Regions from separate parts of the Homo sapiens genome. Here region 2 is linked to region 1. Evidence: promoter capture Hi-C in human tissues and cell types (Jung and others, 2019). All regions are on one chromosome and are shown on one strand. The core of a region is centred on a gene start or on the middle of the fragment in contact, and the rest is flanking DNA. Distances in the headings are between cores, read along the strand shown.

What was found. The method cuts DNA at HindIII sites, captures the fragments that hold promoters and counts their contacts. A contact is called where the count stands out against the background at its distance.
Region 2: a contact is called between a fragment that was not itself captured here and the fragment with the promoter of CYP17A1 in region 1, in 1 of the 25 tissues and cell types used here (bladder).

The regions. Positions count from the first base shown.
Region 1 is chr10:102,836,118-102,838,817 of GRCh38, reverse strand. CYP17A1 (cytochrome P450 family 17 subfamily A member 1) reads left to right here and starts at 1,405. Exons shown (of 8, transcript NM_000102.4): 1 at 1,405-1,753. The coding sequence starts at 1,457. RefSeq lists a promoter at 1,166-1,445. The HindIII fragment of the contact is 7,169 bases long and covers 1-2,700 here.
Region 2 is chr10:102,793,177-102,795,876 of GRCh38, reverse strand. The region is part of intron 1 of WBP1L (WW domain binding protein 1 like); the gene reads right to left. Among named protein-coding and RNA genes, the nearest start is that of CYP17A1-AS1, 38 kb to the left of the region's middle. The HindIII fragment of the contact is 6,115 bases long and covers 1-2,700 here.

The DNA.
Region 1 (2,700 bases), core at 156-2,655:
TTCCTAGCAAGGAGTATTATTATTAATACCCTGGGAAAGGAATGCATTCCTGGGGGGAGGTCTATAAACAGCCGCTCTGGGAATGTCTATCTTGTGCAGTTGAGATAAGGACTGAGATACGCCCTGGTCTCCTGCAGTACCCTCAGGCTTACTAGGGTGGGGAAAAACTCCGCCCTGGTAAATTTGTGGTCAGACCGGTTCTCTGCTGTCGAACCCTGTTTGCTGTTGTTTAAGGTGTTTATCAAGACAGTATGTGCACCGCTGAACATAGACCCTCATCTGTAGTTCTGCTTTTGCCCTTTGCCTTGTGATCTTTGTTGGACCCTTATCAGTGGTTCTGCTTTTGCCCTTTGCCTTGTGATCTTTGTTGGACCCTTATCGGTAGTTCTGCTTTTGCCCTTTGTCCTTTCCCTCAGAAGCATGTGATCTTTGTTAGACACTTATTAGTAGTTCTGCTTTTCGCCCTTTGAAGCATGTGATCTTTGTACCTACTCCCTGTTCTTACACCCCCTCCCCTTTTTGAAACCCTTAATAAAAACTTGCTGGTTTGAGGCTCAGGTGGGTATCACAGTCCTACCGATATGTGATGCCACCCCCGGCGGCCCAGCTGTAAAATTCCTCTCTTTATACTGTCTCTCTTTATTTCTCAGCCGGCTGACACTTATAGAAAGAACCTACGTTGAAATATTGGGGGTGGGTTCCCCCAGTACGCTAGTCCTGCTGATGAGCAAAGAAGGTGTTGATGGCATTTTGATCAACAAGAAATGTTATGAAACGGCCTCCCACCTCTGGCATTCCTAGTACTGACCTATCTCTCCCTTCCCTTCCACCGCTCCCCACAGCTTAGCACCCCTTTCGTTCCCATACACATGTACATTTTTATTTTGGGGACCATTAACCCACAGCCCTTATCGCTGCCAAAACCACATGGGCTGGAGGGCCAGGGCTGCATGGACAGTCACACCACTGCACACCAGCCTGGTGATGGAGCAAGACTCTGAAAAAAAAAAAAAGAAGCATAAAAGACCTTTAACAGTCCCTGCTACTTGTGACCCTCCTGAATCTGTCATCTGTCCAGTGATTTTGATTTTGCAACATGGAAAGTTCCAAGCCTTGACTCCTGAGCCCAGATACCATTCGCACTCTGGAGTCATTCAAGCATGGGGAGCTCCTCAGAGGGTGATCAACTGACCTCCCTTACCTAGCTCCTCCTCCGGAGGTTTGCCCTGGAGTTGAGCCAGCCCTTGAGGAGGCCTTCACTCCCACCGCCTCTCTCCCTTCTGGATATGAGCTCAGGCCTGGCTGGGCTCCAGGAGAATCTTTCCACAAGGCAAGAGATAACACAAAGTCAAGGTGAAGATCAGGGTAGCCCTTTAAAAGGCCTCCTTGTGCCCTAGAGTTGCCACAGCTCTTCTACTCCACTGCTGTCTATCTTGCCTGCCGGCACCCAGCCACCATGTGGGAGCTCGTGGCTCTCTTGCTGCTTACCCTAGCTTATTTGTTTTGGCCCAAGAGAAGGTGCCCTGGTGCCAAGTACCCCAAGAGCCTCCTGTCCCTGCCCCTGGTGGGCAGCCTGCCATTCCTCCCCAGACACGGCCATATGCATAACAACTTCTTCAAGCTGCAGAAAAAATATGGCCCCATCTATTCGGTTCGTATGGGCACCAAGACTACAGTGATTGTCGGCCACCACCAGCTGGCCAAGGAGGTGCTTATTAAGAAGGGCAAGGACTTCTCTGGGCGGCCTCAAATGGTAAGTGGTGCCCATCTCCTCCCTGCCCCCTTCACCACCCCCTGGGATTGTTCAGGTCTTCAGACCATGCCTAGAATGGGGCTTCCAGCTCCAACAACCTGTAATTCTTCCCAAAGTAGACTAGTGGGATGATGTGAAGGGAGTGAACCTTCAGACCCCCACCCAGCCTCTAAATTAGGCAGGAAGAATTAAAGGAATGTCTCCTCTACCAGGCTGCCCAGGAGGTGGGATGGGAGGACCACAGTGGTCTGAGGGGTCAAGGAATCCTCACTCCACTCCTCTCTCTGAGCCTAGACTTCTCTAATGGACTGAGAAGGTGCATGTACAGCACTTAGCCTAGCACCCAGCACAGTAAGTGCCCCTTATACAGCCAGGATTCATGTTACTTTTCATGGAAAATGGGGGCAGTGACTACTGTCCTCCATGAAAGCTGCTGGGGAGAATTAGCCTAGCTATTGCAGGCTGGGATTGCTGCTTTCCTGGTGCTATTTCCAGCTACTCAGGCTCACAGGGGCAGTTTTCTACAATGACATTTCAGGGTTGCTGATGAGCCTCCCACTCAGCAGGGCCCCCAGCCTCTCAGCATTTTTTTTTTTTTTTTTTTTTTTTGAGACAGAGTCTCTCTCTGTCGCCCAGCCTGGAGTGCAGTGGCCAATCTCAGCTCACTGCAACCTCTGCCTCCCGGGTTCAAGTGATTCTCCTGCCTCAGCCTCCTGAGTACCTGGGACTACAGGAGCATGCCACCATGCCCGCTAATTTTTTGTATTTTTAGTAGAGATGGTGTTTCACCATGTTAGCCAGGATGGTCTCGATCTCCTGACCTCGTGATCCTCCCACCTTAGCCTCCCAAAGTGCTAGGATTATAGGCGTAAGCCACTGTGCCCTGCCAGCCTCTCAGCTTTGATCAAGCCAAGGGTTGGTTTATTTTTTCTTGGACCAATCAGCCA
Region 2 (2,700 bases), core at 41-2,540, 43 kb after region 1:
TATGCTTGCTACTTTGGCCAGAACACACACTCTTTGACTTCAGAGCAAAACATGCCTTTCATAAAAACATCAGAAAGTTTCTCCCCAGTTTACCAGGCCCTGCGAATGCCATTCTTCCGGCACTGGCTTAAAAGAGCACAGTTCAAAGTGTCCACATAGTTTCTAAAAGAGGCAGTGGTGCCTACACTTGGCACAAGAAAGAATCCAATGACACTTCTGTCTCAGGAAAATTCACCAGAGGCAGCCCAGGCTCGGAACACATGGCTGTCAACTGGTCTTAAGTGAGACATAGAGTGGAATGCATTTGAAATCTAAACAAGTGGCATCCTCATGACCTACTGCTGTCAGTCAGCTTTTCTCTCGGATCTTCTGTGCACCGAGGCAGGGGGCCTGGAATAAACAAGACCTCACTCTGCTTCACCGTTCTGCCTCCGCTTTCCCAGGGAGAGCAGAACAGTGGAAGCATCATTTAATCCAGTGTTCCTCAAACAGTTTTTAACACAGTACGGAAGTTTCTCGGCTTACGATGGGGTCATGTTCTGGTAAACCCATCATAAATTGAAAATATCGTCAGTCAAAAATGCATTTAACACAGTTAATCTACTGAACAGCATAGCTTAGCCTAGCTTACCTTAAACTGCTCGGAACTTACATCAGCCTATGGTTTGGTAAAATCCTCTAACACAAATTATTTTACAATAAAGTATTGAATATCTCATGTCATCTACTTAATACTGTATTAAAAATGAAAAACAAATGATTTCTACTGGCTGCATGTATCAATTGCACCACCATAAAGTTGAAAAATCACTAAGTTGAACCATCACAAGTTGTGGCCATCTATATATCTAGTCCCCTGTGGTCCTTCTCCCTCCTCTAAATACAGAGTCCCTGAGCTGCCTGGGATAGTCTTGGTTATGGGAACTGTCATTTTCTGCTGCAGCGGTACGAAAGAAGGTGTACCTCTAGCAAGGAAGAGGTGAAGGAGGATTCAGGAGATAGTGAGATATGAGTGCCAAAGTGAGTTCCTTCAGAGAGACATGCTGGTGTCAGTCAATAGTGGTATGGAAAACCCAGGAGCCTTGGGTTTGGCCCCAGCTCTCCTCGCACCCCCCTACTTTTTTCTTTTTCACTCAGAGTCTAACTGTTGCCCAGGCTGGAGTAGAGTGGCCTGATCACAGCTAACTGCAGCCTCGACCTCCAGGCTCAACTGATCCTCCTGCCTCAGCCTCCTGAGTAGCTGGGACTACAGGTGCACGCCACCACACCCGGCTAATTTTTGTAGATCCCAGCTCTATCACTACACAGAAATGAACTTTAGGCAAGTTACTCAATGGCCCTAGGTCTGGTTAAGATCACCTGTAATGTCTCCTTAAATTTTCTTTTGTGGGGGTGGGGAGGATGGAGTCTCACTCTGTTGCCCAAGCTGGTATGCAGTGGCGTGATTTTGACTCACTGCAACCTCCACCTCCCGGGTTCAAATGATTCTCCTGCCTCAGCCTCCCGAGTAGCTGGGATTACAGGCGTGAGCCACCACGCCCAGCCGTCTCCTTCAACTTTAAGGTTTTATTATCCTCCCCATCCCCTTTCCACCCTGACATAGCAGCCTCAAGCCAATGCAAGATATCATGAAATCTATGTCTCCTCTCATGCAAATCCACAGCAAAGAACAGTGGTGTGGAAATGCTGCCTGGTGATCTTCCACCCCTCCTTATATGAGGAGCCTAATTGTTGCACACCTAGGACTCAAACACCTCCCGGTGGCTTAAGATCTACACAAAGCCTAAGTAGTTAAGAGTTCGCTGGGGCCAGGTGTGGTGGGTCACGCCTATAATTTCAGCACTTTGGGAGGCCAAGGTGGGCAGATTACTGGAGCCCAGGAGTTTGAGACCAGCCTGGACATGGCAAAACCCCATCTCAACCAAAAAAATAATAATACAATTAGCTGGGTGTGATGTTGCACACCTGTAGTCCCAGCTACTTGGGAGGCTGAGGTGGGAGGACTGCTTGAGCCCAGAAGGTTGAGGCTGCAGCAAGCCATGATTGCACCACTGCACGCTAGCCTGGGTGACAGAGCCAGACCCTGTCTCAAAAAAAAAAAAGAGTGAGCTGGATCTGGGTTCAAAGCCCAGCTTTTACAGTAGGGCTATTAACTGTGTGACCTTGGGCTAATTAAATTCTCTGGGCTCCTACTATCAACATTATTCTGTGAGCCACTATTGCTGAGCATGAAAGACCATCCAAAAAGCACTTTGCCTTCACTCAGAATTGTTTCAGAACAGCCAAGTTCTCTGTGGCAATGTGGGCTGCTCCAGACACATGAAGAAGAAAAGAAAAAGGAACTGGAAAGAATGCAATGGAAAGGTCAAATATGAAAAATTATCAGCACCCTTTATGATTATCCTATGCTTTTACTATTTACGTATTTATTGGAGACAAGGTCTTGCTCTGTTGTCCAGGCTGGAGTACAGTGGCACGACTGTAGCTCACTACAGCCTCAAACTCCTGGGCTCACGTGATCCTTCTGCCTCAGCCTCCCGAGTAGCTAGGACTACAGGCATGTGCCACCATATCTGGCTTTTTTATTTTTACTTTTTTGGTAGAGGCAGGGTCTCACTATGTTGCTCAGGCAGATCTCAAACTCCTGGCCTTAAGCAATCGTCCCATCTTGGCCTCCCAAAGTGCTGGGGTTACAGGCAT